3 separate regions of the Homo sapiens genome follow, and regions 2 and 3 are each linked to region 1. Evidence: promoter capture Hi-C in 16 types of primary human blood cells and fetal thymus (Javierre and others, 2016). All regions are on one chromosome and are shown on one strand. The core of a region is centred on a gene start or on the middle of the fragment in contact, and the rest is flanking DNA. Distances in the headings are between cores, read along the strand shown. Region 1 holds the start of PIN4 (peptidylprolyl cis/trans isomerase, NIMA-interacting 4). Region 2 overlaps HDAC8 (histone deacetylase 8). Region 3 overlaps PHKA1 (phosphorylase kinase regulatory subunit alpha 1).

What was found. Contacts are between HindIII fragments. The CHiCAGO score rates a contact against its expected background, and 5 or more counts as called.
Region 2: a contact is called between a fragment that was not itself captured here and the fragment with the promoter of PIN4 in region 1, in 2 of 17 cell types (M2 macrophages and endothelial precursors). The highest score is 5.9, in M2 macrophages.
Region 3: a contact is called between a fragment that was not itself captured here and the fragment with the promoter of PIN4 in region 1, in 1 of 17 cell types (total B cells). The highest score is 7.3, in total B cells.

What each region holds. Positions count from the first base shown.
Region 1 is chrX:72,180,108-72,184,316 of GRCh38, forward strand. PIN4 (peptidylprolyl cis/trans isomerase, NIMA-interacting 4) reads left to right here and starts at 1,650. Exons shown (of 4, transcript NM_006223.4): 1 at 1,650-1,721. The coding sequence starts at 1,679. RefSeq lists an enhancer at 1,690-1,909. The HindIII fragment of the contact is 4,711 bases long and covers 1-1,668 here.
Region 2 is chrX:72,536,103-72,540,921 of GRCh38, forward strand. All of the region lies in intron 4 of HDAC8 (histone deacetylase 8), which reads right to left. Among named protein-coding and RNA genes, the nearest start is that of HDAC8, 34 kb to the right of the region's middle. The HindIII fragment of the contact is 4,001 bases long and covers 440-4,440 here.
Region 3 is chrX:72,577,489-72,582,001 of GRCh38, forward strand. PHKA1 (phosphorylase kinase regulatory subunit alpha 1) reads right to left here. Exons shown (of 32, transcript NM_002637.4): 32 at 1,326-3,687. The coding sequence ends at 3,514. Among named protein-coding and RNA genes, the nearest start is that of HDAC8, 6.9 kb to the left of the region's middle. The HindIII fragment of the contact is 3,710 bases long and covers 1-3,136 here.

The sequences.
Region 1 (4,209 bases), core at 400-2,899:
ATCCCAACTCCCCCGCCCCTCCATCTCGCAGCCGAACTTGGAGAATTAGTACAGGTGCGGGATCCACTTCAGAAGTGGCAGAGCAATGATCCCCTCACCACTAGATGTGTCCTCCGCAGTTGATCACTCCCAATCCGAAAACAAGGAGTGCCCAAAATGTGTCCAGAATTTAAAGCAGCCAAACATAAGAGGGCTCCATGTTATGTCTTGAGTAGGGAATGAGCACAGTCTCAGAAACACCTGATTCCCTGGTATGAGCATGAAGCATCTCCAGGTCCAGCAAGGCTGCATCCAAAAACTAAACTCTGAGCTGGAAGACCTCTATATTCTGGCTGGTAGTGGCAAGCTAGGACAGCTCTCTCATGGACTGGAGGAAACGCCCTGACATATCATATACAAATTATTGATGGTGGGAGGGATTGTAAGGGGAGAAAAAGTGTGTGGGCACAAATTCAAAAATCATTTATCTTAGGCAAACATTATTAATATGAGCAAGCCATCATTTTATGTGCTTTACAGATATGAACTTGTTTAATTCTCTTAACACCTGATAGGATAATAGTAGGTACTATTATCATCAACTCCATTTCACAGATGATGAAACTGAGCCAAAGAGAGGTGAAGTAACTTCCTCAAGGTCATGGAGCTAGTAGACAGATGTGGAGCAGGGATTTGAAACTGGGCAATCTGGCTCCAGAATCCATGCTTTTACTACACTATGCTGCACCATTATGGAAATTTTGGAAAATACACAGAAACAAACACGATGACCTGTATGCACTAGCACCACTGGCCACATCTTGCTCTATAGCTTTCCTCTCCTTTATATTCATATAACATACAATACATTACATATACTTCTTTTACAAGGAATCATATTCTTTATCTTGGTCTTAAAAACATTTCCCCTATCTGTACACACAGCCTTACAATCGTTATTTTGAATGTTGTATAATATCTTCTTGTGTGGCTAAAACATTATTTAAGCAGTACCCGACTGAGGAGCACTCAGACTGCTTCCAATGTTTCTCCATGACTGAGCTCTGCAAGACGCAAAAAGGTGACAGGCTTTTTTAAAAACTACCTTTTGAACCTAATTAGCTACAACTGCAGAATAAAATTAACAAACGAAAAACTGCCAGGGAGGGCAGCCCTGTGTGTAGGAGGAGACAGCGGAAGTTGGCCGCCACCACAGTACTCCTGCTTCCCTTTGTCTGGCGGCCCCGCGGGATTGGCCAGAGCTGGCGCCGAGGGACTGCAGAGCCACCCACCCCCGTGGCTCCTACTGCGCACGCGTGAAAAAAGCCAGGTTGAGGGGAACGGGGGAGCTTCGGGCGTAGAGTGTGGGGAGTGGGGGATCTGGTGCAAATTAGGGTGCGTGAAAGAAGTCACAAAAAGCGCAGAGGCCAGGCTTCCCGCCCTAATCCGGCCTTTGTCTCCGCCCCTCTGCCTTTGTTTCGGCCCAAGCGTCTTATTGGTCAGACATCTTCAGCCCCATTGGTCCAAGAGCCAAAGGACGGGGTCTGCCCCAAGCTGTGCCTGCTTCCGGAGCCGCAATAAGAACGGTCAATTGAGATGCGGCTTTCAGGCATTTGTTTAGGACATGCCCATGGCGGGGCTTCTAAAGGGGCTTGTACGGCAACTGGAGCGGTTCAGCGTTCAACAACAAGCTTCCAAGATGCCGCCCAAAGGAAAAAGTGGTTCTGGAAAAGCGGGGAAAGGTAGAGCGGCCAGAGCGATCAAGGAGAATGGGGGCGGGTGAGGAGCGAAGGGAGGGAACAGACAGTCCATCTCCGGAGTCCGGGACGGACGCAGCAGGTAGCCAGTGGCCCCACAGTGCTGCCATCGATTACATCTGTAGGAATACATTGGGCTACGGTTCAGGGACCGTCCTAGTGGGTAATGGAATCTGATGGGGATAGTTCCTCGGAGGCGATGACTTAGGGCTGCTATTTCAAGGGGTTATTAGAGCTCTAAAATTGGGTCTTATCAAAAGCCAGCAATAGGAAGTACACATTGGTTATGGTCCTTAAAGTTCACTTTAATGCTTACAGAATGACATGCCCACCATCGGGGAAGGAATCATTCATCCATTGAACAGAAATGTGTCAGGCAGAGTGCTAAGCGCTGAGGATACACAAATAAGACAGAAGGCTGGGCGCGGTGGCTCACGCCTATAATCCCAGCACTTTGGGAGGCCGAGGGAGGATGGATCACGAGGTCAGGAGTTCGAGACCAGCTTGGCCAACATGGCGAAACCCCGTCTCTACTAAAAATACAAAAATTCGCCAGGCGTGGTGGTGGTGCGCGCCCGTAATCCCAGCTACTCGGGAGGCTGAGGCAGGAGAATCGCTTGAACTCGGGAGGCAGAGGTTGCAATGAACCGAGATCGCGCCACTGCACTCCAGCCTGGGCGACAGAGCGAGCCTCTGTCTCAAAAAAAAAAAAGAGATTTTGGCCTTAAGGAGCTCCCGAAGTAGTGAGGAAGATAAAGGCTTAGTGATCATAAAGCACTGTACTAAATGTAGTGTTGAGGGATGTGTATGGGATATAATAGAAATTGAGGGAAGTCCTTCATTTAGCTGGGGAACAGGGAACGGAAGACTTCCTGGAGATGAATTAGGCAGGTCAAGATGTGCATTGAGGGTAGGTTAAAGCATTCCTTACTTGGGGTCCAGCAGCAAAAGCACTGAGGTGAGAAACAGCATGATGTGTGCAGCGTAGTGTTGCTGGAGCAAAAACTCAAGGCAGAATGGCAAGTGGTGAGAATGAAAACAGAAACAAAGACGAGATCATGGAGAGTGCTATATATTCTGCTAAGAAGGACAGTTAAGGATCAGAAAGACCTGTAAGGAGATTGTTGTGGTAGTCTTGGTGAGAGATGATGGTGGACTGACCTAAGGGAGTGGCTGTGGGAACTGAGAAAAGAGAAAAGATTCTGTAAATATTAGGATGTGAAATAGTCAAGACTTGGTGATTTATTGGGTTGGGGAGGGGTGGTGAGGGAGGATCAACGATCATTCTGTTTTCTGGATTGGATTTCTAACCTGTTGCTGGTCCTGCAGGGTAACATCAAGGATACATGAGGAGCGGGGATGAGATTGATGAATTCACTTTCAGATAGATTGGCTTTGAGGTGTCTGTGGGACATCTCAGTGGAGATGTAGTCAGGAAGTGGTTGGATATTTGAGTCTAAAGTTTGAGGGAGAGGTCTAGACTGTACATGTAAGTTTTAGGAGTCGCTAACTTATAGATGGTAGTTGAGCCCATTAGAGTGTATGCAATTATCCATGGAGAGTTTATAGAATGAAAAGAGCAGAGAGCAGAGGATGTGATCCTAGGACAGGCAGAGAAAGAGGCAGACAGATAGAGGGAGTGCAGAATGGTGGCCAGAGGCTGGAGAGACCAGAATGTTTTAAAGAGAGAGGGTATAGTCTATCAAGAACAGCAGATTTGGAAATTAGAGGTGGCCTTGGGTAAAAGTGGTTTCAGTGAAACAGAAGCCAGATTACCGTGACTAGAGAACTGACTGGGAAGTGGTAATTTGGACTTCTTGGAAAGTTTTAATTGAAAAGCATGGAAATGGGATGGTAGATAGAGAAGGACAGAGGATTAAGAGAAAGTTTTATTTTCTTTGCTTCTTTGGAATGGGGAAAACTTGGGAGTGAAGCTGAAGGATCCAGTAAAGTAAAAGAGGTAAAGGTACAGAAGAGTGAGATTTAGGAGAAAATGGAATCCAGGACCTAGGGGGAGCAGGGACACCTTATGCTTGAGGTCATAGGAAAGGAGATGGAGGGGCAGGGACTCAGTAGGCATCTTGAGGAGAGTGGTAAAGGTCTGGAATATCGTAATGGAAGAGGGAATGAAACACAAAAGAAGTGCCTTCAGGGCTAGGAGCCTGACTAAGATCAAAGGCCATGAATTTGTAGACTACATAATCTTCACAGTCTGATTTACCTAGTACTATGCAATTGGCACAATATAGGATTGAAAAGAGCTAGGTGCAGCCTTAAGCCATGGTTGAGGTTTTGTTAGGCAGTTATGATAGGAGGATAGCAACACCAGGGAATTACAAGGGCCAGTGGGAATGCAGTTCAGATGAAGGAACATGGGGTCCAGAGTGGGAAGGGAAAAAGAAGTCTGGTGGCCTAGGTGAATGTAGCAGGACGAAGGGACTGGGGTCAAGGGAGAGGTTCTGTGAAGTTAAAG
Region 2 (4,819 bases), core at 1,190-3,689, 360 kb after region 1:
GTAACACCCCATTCACTACTTCTGTGGCCCAGTTCATGTAGCTGTCAAATGCAGAGCTCTCTTGTGAGAACTGACTCAATGGCTTTTACAGATCAAGCTGGTGTGTTTATAACTGCATTATTTCCTCTATCAAAGAAGGAGACTGGAAAAAACAGAAATCTTTCTGTTATTTGACTTCATAGTTATATCAAGCAAGTCCTCTTGGACACTTACATGATAGAAACCGGGGTAGAAACCAGGAGACCTAGGTCTCTGCTTCAGTTTTTCATCTTACCAAAAACTCCCTAATCTTACCTGTCTCCTTCAGAGGAATGTTATCATGATAAGTTTAAAGATATTTATTAAAAATCCAAAGTTTTAACTATTGTAATTATGAAACTCACATTTTTTCTCTCATTAAGCCCCCAATTGTGATTTAATACATATAGCTAAATAAATAAGCTTCGTGCACATCTGCTTCTCTCCACATAAAATATACATGCACACAAAATACATGCACCTAATTGTGGGAAATCAGAAATTAGTTCCACATAATGGGTTTTCTTTTAACTACCCACTTGACATTTATAGTCCACTTTAAGGGCTCTGTGCCTAGAGTTGGCAGCTCTAGGAACAGTGAGATCAGTTTGTCTACAGTTGTTCCCAACCTTTTTTGGCTCTGGTACACCTACACTTGCTTCCAAAAATATACCCCACAGTCTGGTGCTCAATGGAATGAAAATCTTTCCTGAGCTAATAGGATATAAAACAGAGGAGGCAGTGGACATAGTTCTGCATTTTAGGGTACTCATAACAGCATAGTGAGCCAAACCAGTGACAATGATGTAATTGACCCAGCACAGAGAGAAAGAAGGTTTGGGCTGTTTCTTCAAAACTGGGATAGATTTATCAACCTACGCCTCCCAGATTGGCCTCCCTTATGACTTAGAATATGCTTTTGAAGAGCTGGCTGGCCAAGGGAAATGGTGCAGCCAGTAGTAGCATTAGAGTAAATGAAAACTAACTGGTTTGTACAAGGACTAAAATCATAGTTTTGGCCTCATTAGCACTATACTCTAACTTTCTGAGCTAACTAACTACAGATATTACCTGAAAGAAGACCAACCTTTAATCAGAAACAAAAATGTATTCAAGTATATGGCACAGATAAATCATTCAGTCTCAGTGACCTGTATCCAATGTTGAGCCTATTCCAAAGTTGCCATCTAATGAGGTGGAAAGATCCTTTATTTACCTGAACAGTTCTAAAAGTTTCATATTTTGTACTATTACACCCAATAATTAATGTTATCTCATGTGAATGGCTTGAGTTCCAACTATTTATACATTTCCTGCAATTAGTATGCATTTGAGAAATTTTTAGTAAATACTGCTATTATTTATTATTAAGCCTTGAATGGCAAGCAGAAATCTGAAGTTAATTGTTGTACCTTCTTTATGGATATATATCCCTCTTATAGTAAATCCACAGATAGGGATTCCTGGTCAAGGCATTAACAAGAGCTTAGTGACCTTCAAGATGCCTCCCAGAGGAGGCTGTCATAATCTCTTAAAGAAAATTTGTTAGTTGTCTGGAATAAAGTCCATAGTTACCAGTTGACTTGATCCACTTTATATGCTTTATTATTACTGTTATATTAAAGTACATCAGGCAAGACTAGTGGTTTAAGCTCCTCTCAATTTATGCCTTACCTCTGCCCCTTATGCCTTACCTTTGTCCTTAGTTTCCAGAAGAGTTTAAAGAGCCATTTTTACTAAATTCCAAAGACAGTACATGAAAGGCATTGAAACTAATGATTATCAGAAGAAAAATCCACTGAATTCTAGCAAAGACCAGTGAGGAAGTGAATGCAGCTTACTAGCATTCCAACTAAATTTAGTAGTATCAGTTGTATAAGAATCTGAGTGGGTAGTTGGATTAAATATTTGCAAATATGCTGAAAAAAAGATGAGTTTTATCTTGGTGATAATACAGTTATATTAAAGACAAGTTGGGGTAGAAAATCATATTGAGGTAAAGCTGTGGAATAATGTGGCTCTATGCAACTTACTTCCTTTCTCTTAGCCCTTGGTTTTGTTTTTCTTTTTTTTTTTTTTTGGAGATGAAGTCTTGCTCTGTCACCCAAGCTGGAGTGCAGTGGCACCATCTCGGCTCACTGCAACCTCCACCTCCTGGGTTCAAGCGATTCTTGTGCATCAACCTCCCGAGTAGCTGGGATTACAGGTGCGCACCACCACACCTGGTTAATTTTTTAATTTTTAGTAGAGACGGGGTTTTGCCATGTTGGCCAGGCTGGTCTCGAACTCCTGACCTCAGGTGATCCACCCACCTCGGCCTCCCAAAGTGCCAGGATTACAGGTGTGAGCTACTGCTCTCGGTCCCTTGGTTCTTATATTTAAACACTGACACTGAAAAATTAGGACTCTTACTACAGTTAAGACATCAGAAGAAAAAAGAAGGCAAAAGATCAATTAGTTTTAGATACAAACTTTGAGTTTGCACCTTCAATTTCCATTTAAAGTTGCCTGAGAAAAGATATCAGGATGGGTTTGGTGACAACAGAAAACAAATAGAAAGGCTTACTCTGGAGTCTATACTGTATTAGAAAATTCACCAATGCTAGAGACACTTGCCCTCCTCTAGCAAGGACTAGCTTCAGGAACGGTTCAGACATATCATAAAAATAGGTGTTGAGAAGAGCAATAAAAATGGGTTGTGTTTCTCAGGCTTTTGAAAAGATTCCATTAAATAGATGGAAAAATACATTAAAATACATAAAACACACTGAAAAATGTAGTACTGAGTATTATGACCAGTATTTCTCAAAACTGTGAAGGTCATCAAAATTAAAGAAAGTCTGAGAAATTGACACAGCCAAGAGGAGCCTAAGGAGACAACTAAATGCAATGTGGTGTCCTAGTGGGATCTGGGGACAGAAAAAGGACATTATGTAAACACTAAGGAACTATAAACTCTGAATAAACTATGGACTGTAATGAGTGATCATGTATCAATATTGGTTAATTGTAACAATGTTTCATACTCATGTAAGATGTTAACAATAGAGGAAACTGTGTGGGGTTTATGGAAACTCTACACTATCTGTGCAATTTTATTTATTTATTTATTTATTTATGTATTTATTTTGAGACGGAATCTCACTCTGTCACCAGGCTGGAGTGCAGTGGCACGATCTCCGCTCACTGCAACCTCCGCCTCCCGGGTTCAAGTGATTCTCCTGCCTCAGTCTCCCGAGTAGCTGGGACTACAGGCATGCGCCACCATGCCCAGCTAATTTTTTTTTTTTTTTGTATTTTTAGTAGAGACAGGGTTTCACCATGTTGGCCAGGATGGTCTCGATCTCTTGACCTCGTGATCCACCCGCCTCGGCCTCCCAAAGTACTGGGATTACAGGCATGAGCCACCGTGCCTGGCCTATCTGCTCAATTTTTCTATAAATCTAAAACCATTCTTAAAAAATGTTAATCAAAATTTTAAAAAGGGTTATTTTGTCAGACCATTTGAAATGATTCCATTAATGAAAAATTCCTAATATGAGGGCCCAGCTCATGGGCCTGGATCCAGGGCAGTTGGAGGCTTCAGCCATCAGATGATAACTAGACAAGAGCTCCGCACCCCCAACAATAACCCAGGTCAGAAAGCTGCAAATCCAGACACCCAAAATCCCTTCAGAGAATTTCAGTGAGAACAATGGATGATTAAGACAATAAGCAAAGTCTGTTTAACTTTCTTTCTCCTGAACAACCCTACAGCTCTCAAGCACATTGTGGACAGCAGGTTTCTCAAGCAGTGAAATCCCCATGTACAAAAGCAGAGCTAATGATTCCCGTGGGGTCAAACAAGCCCAGAGGAACCGCATCCTTCAGCAGCTGCCCACCCCTCCTGAGAAGGAAAGAGCTGATATGGGAGCAGAGGCCTGACTGGGGCTTTAGTGACTCCTAGCTCTGGCTTTACAACATACACTCTTGTCTGACACTATCATTTATACAAATAAGGCACACAAACTCCAAGTCTGACTCTTTTCCTCCTCTTGCCTAAAGATTCTTTAAGACTAAGGATCATGAGTGTTATCTTTATCAGCCAGGTTATGAACTCTGAAGAATGGTTTCTTAATGGAAATACTAACCACTGTTAATTAGCAAAACAAATTTCAAGATGAAAAGTCTGTTGATTCTAAATATTCATTATTTCATTCTTTTATTCAAATTATAAACATTTATTGAAGACCTATTATGAGTCAGATACTGGACTGGTGAAAGAAAATGGTGCAGAATGCTCTGACCTGATGAAACAGTTTAGATGAACATAGATCAATAAATAGAAACGAGAATGACGTTAATAGAATTTCATTAAGCGGAGAACATACTTGATTTAACCTTGCACTCCCTCTAGTGGTTTTTTTTTTTGTTAAAATGTGAAGCTTATATAACAGCCCACAGTCTAGTAATGTTCAATATGCTGGAATCTCTGACATCCTGACTGCTTGACTTTGTGAGCACTGTAATCTCTGACTGCCACGTGGAACCTCTCACCTTCTCTCTCTCCCGGTCCTGATAATTTGATATCTGTCAAGATATTACCACTGATTCATTCAACAAATATTTATTGAGAATCTATCTTGAGAAGGCATTAACTAATCATTCCAATTTAATAACTTTATTTCCCAAACATTTTAACATTCAGTAAGTCAACTGGTAACACTATGATGGACAGTCTCTTAAAGGGTTGGGAATTAACATTTCCTATTCATCTCTGTCCTGCCCATCTACTGCAACTTTCACGCTTGTCCATTCCCCA
Region 3 (4,513 bases), core at 32-2,531, 400 kb after region 1:
ACTGTCATCCTTACCCCCATACCACTACTGCACAAGTACTACTAGTGGTTTGAGAATAAGTTCTTGGTTTTTTGGCTTAGCCTTAAAAGAAATCACACATCTGCTAAATATAGGGTGACCATATCTTTCAAACTGAGACATTTTTTGAGAGTGACACAGTGCTATTGATAATTATGCCAGTAAAACAGGCATAAATGGGGGCTGCCCTGGACAAACCAACACCTGAGGTTACTCAAGTTAAAAAGGAAATGAATGTCTACCAAATATAAGAATAAAAATTGATGGCTGTATTTTTTTAAAATTAAATAAATAAAAAGGAAATGAAGACTACATGTGGAAAATAATCTCCACTGCATTAGTGCAGACACTAGGTACTTGGTAAGTAGAAAAAGGAATGGCAGAGGTTTTGCCAGCTGTGGTGAAGAACAACTTTTGCCCCACCAGTTGTGTAAGATTCCCAGAATGTAGTAAAATTTCATTAACCAGGATGGAACTGTAGAGACAATGTTCATCCTTGCTGGATAAATCCTGTTATAGAAAAGGCTAATGAATAGTATAAACAAACAAGATTCTGCCAAATATTTTTAATATTTAGAAAAACAAGTTGTTTTAAAATACCCTTCATTAGGGAAGAAGCACCATTTGTACACAATTGAAAGGCTGAGTAAAAATGTTTTACTCATTCATCAGAAAATGTTCCCTACAGGCCAGGCGCGGTGGCTCACGAGTGTAATCCCAGCACTTTGGGAGGCTGAGGCAGGCGGATCACCTGAGATCAGGAGTTTGAGACCAGACTGGCCAACATGGTGAAACCCCGTCTCTACTAGAAATACAAAAAAAATTAGCTGGGTGTGGTGGCGCATGCCTGTAATCCCAGCTACTCGGGAGGCTGAGACAGGAGAATCGCTTGAATCCGGGAGGCAGCGGTTGCAGTGAGCCGAGATCACCCCACTGCACTCCAGCCTGGGCGATAGAGCAAGACTCCGTCTTAAAAAAAAAAAAAAAGAAAAGAAAAGAAAAGAAAAGAAAAGAAAAGAAAAGAAAAGAAAAGAAAAGAAAAGAAAAGAAAATGTTCCCTACAGATGTCAATAAGCCCGCTTGAATTTAGTAAGCCTTGTTTGAGTGGGTATGTATTTGAATGATTAAACTGCATTTCTTTACATATATTATCTAACATATTATGAAATGTATAATATATTATATATGTATTAATATATTAATATTATTCTACTTCAACCCAATGAATGAGCTTTGACTGTACTGTATAATTAAGCAGAGTATGTAGAATAAAGCCATGAAATAAACTCCAATCACAAAAACACATGTGAAGTTTTGCACATTGGCACCAGACATGATTTAATTGGAAATTCTTATTATTTATTCTATTTTCAAAACATAAGTGCTTTTTTAAAAAAAGTCTAACATGTCTTTTTAGTACCACACACTTAAAATGAACAAAAAACAAGTCGAGTTTTCTTAAAAGTTGCTTTAAAAGTTAAATACCACTGTATGGGGACCATAATGACACAATTTCGTAAACTCAGAGAAATGCAGCCCTTCGAGTAAGTTCAGGCAAATGAGTGTGGGAAGGAGTGGATCTTTTGCCTGTGGCACTACAGATATACTCCCTGAGATTGGGGTACACTTACAACCAGTGAAAAGACAAATAGTTTCAGAACAGGTTGTAAACTTTCTTTAAAAGTGACCAGAAAATAATGTAGTCAGAAAGCTACTTACTGTGTGTTTCCATTTGCTCTGAGAGAAGTGCTGAAAAGGTTTGCTGTCCTCTCTTTGTTTCTACTATCTGTATTCTATCACCCTACTATATGCTTACTTATTCATTATATTCATAAGATTGTCACTGGTTCTGCAAGAATTGTTCAGAGAGTCTCTCATCCCCACCCTCACCATTCCCAATATTGGGGAAAAACTTTAGAAATCCAAGATAAAGGAGGGGGTTGAAGTAGGAAGTTATCTAAGTGCAAAAAGGGAAGTTAACAGAGTCTCTGCACAATTCAGAAGAAGGAGAGTTAGAAGAAACATTTGTCAAGCAAGGCTACCTACATATGGGATGAAGGAAGAGGACTGAAGCTATTCTTCCACCAATCTGTGTGTGTCAATCTGAGTCCACAGTCACATCCCTTCTCTCACATGCAACATTCTTACTCAGTCCATCAAATGTAGATACAGATTGATATACAGACACATCAAAACTGCTTACATTCAGAAAAATTCCCATGTATGCTTATACACACACACACACACACACACACATACACACACAAATATGTGTCTTTATAAGAAACAGACATATGCCCACAGATACCATGATATACAGGGATATGTACACTAGAATTAGGAAGTGAAAATATATATGAAAGAGTTTAAGAATAGATGGGGGGATAGGGTGTCAGGGAGTTGAGTTGGATGTAGTAGAAAGTAGGTGAGTGAGACAGAGACCAGGAGCACATGAAAAGAATGCTAAGTAGAGCACCTATAGACTGGACTGCTGTATTTATCTTTGCTGAATACAGACGCTTCAAATTATTGTCTGTGTTGTGTATTGGCCCATTTTTCAAAGGCAGGGATTAAGCGCATAAGGCTGTCTTCAGGGAACTAAGCCACCTCTGATTCCCTCTCTGTTCCCTATGTATAAGACATTGTCCAGGCATCGTCTCTTCTTTCCCTTCCTCTCTGGAATTGGGCTCCGGGCTCCATTTCTGGGTTATTCTGCATTTTCTGCTGCAAATACAACTCTGAGTACCAACAATCTTTATAAAATGTGATTTCAAGTGTTAGTTCAGAAATTCTTAAATATGCATGCTGTACTTGCATTTTTTTGATATTTCACCAAAGTGAGAGAGGCATTATGTGTGCAGACACAGAGAGGGCAACAGTAGAGACAATGATTCTACATAGAAACAATTTTAAATTATCACTCAGTGTGAAGCAACCTGTAAGTAAGGAAGAAAACCATGATCCAGTACTCTCTTTTCCTAAGAAAAGGCACGTAGAATAGGTAATTCTAATTTATAGCAGCATAAATATTTAACAATTTAGAGTTTACTCATTTGAAATAATGTCCCAAAGTACCCACCACTCATATACACAATAAAATCACAAAAAAGAAAAACCAAGCTTTAGGAATAAGTTATTATTAACACTTGCTCCCCAAACAGGAGTTAGAAAACTATATTGGTAACAGATCTAGAGAATAAAAACACATGCAAACTTTTATGAATGATGAAAGAAATAAAGCCAATCATGACAGGCCTGGCTGAGTGTTCATTATACTCATAAGATTGTCACTGGTTCTGCAAGGTGAGCCTCCAGGTAAGTGTTCACTTCTTCTACAGTAGTTAGTTTATCGAAAAAGTTCTCTCTTCTTGGGAAGGATGGGACAGAAAGGGGCAGGGTTGGAGTGATTAGGCAATAACATTTTAGTTCCATGCACAATCAACCGAGGCAGGGACCAGCTGTCAAAAGGCTCCCAGAAGCCAGGAACCAAAGCCCTCATTGCATGGCACAGATGCTGTGGGGCAGGAACTCCTGCACGTAGGTGGCGGCTGCCTTGGAGAGGTAGGTCATGGTGCCAAACCTGCCACTGGGTGCACTGTCATACAGAAGAGTACAGATGCCAGATGCGGGATCCTTTGCCAACATGGTATCATCTGCGCCAAGGGTTTTCTGTTTGGTTTTTAAGGGTAGAAGAACATAGGGGAAAGGAAAAATTACCAATCTTACTAAGTAAAGTCCTGATTAGCATAATTCAGAACCTCCTCCCCAACACCAATTAGTTGGGCCCTAGACTGTTTATCCAGGAAGAAATAGGTTTATGGACAAAAGGGTGAATATGAGTTTGTATGCAGGCATTTTTCACTAGGTCCCCAAATCATGTAAATTATTTAAAAATTATTAATTGTTTAGAATTTTCCCCATTATGATCAATTTCTAAAAGTTAAATATAATCATTCATCTATTGAGTCATACCTATTAATAGACAAATGTTAACACAAATCACCGTAGTAGAGCTTTGGTCTGACTCCTTCTAGTACTACTAATTTCAGCTTGTATTCTTTTATCCTGCATTTGATCATGATTTCTTTCTAAGGCGACTTAATTCAAATAGACTAAGTTTTCTGAGGCTAGAGGTCTATGCCTAAAAGGGAACACATTTTTAGATACATGGACTGACAGCAATCCATAATTTTTAAAATTAGAATCTTCTTAGAAAGCCCTGGATATTTTTCTTTTGCATCTCCTCCCAGTGGCTAACAGAATGAAAACAGCTATTATATGTTTTGAAAATTTTTTTACTGCCAACAGTGCCTGTCCTTCACTTATGTGCTCCTACTGTTAATACGGGCAACATTTGGGACACTTTCAATAGTTTGTATTTTTGAATGTGGATAATTTCCTGGAAGAAGATTTATTAAGAAAATAAGAAAAATGTAGGAGTAAAAGTTTCACTTTCTTATTTTCCTATAGGTGAATAGCAAAAGCAAAGTAAAAC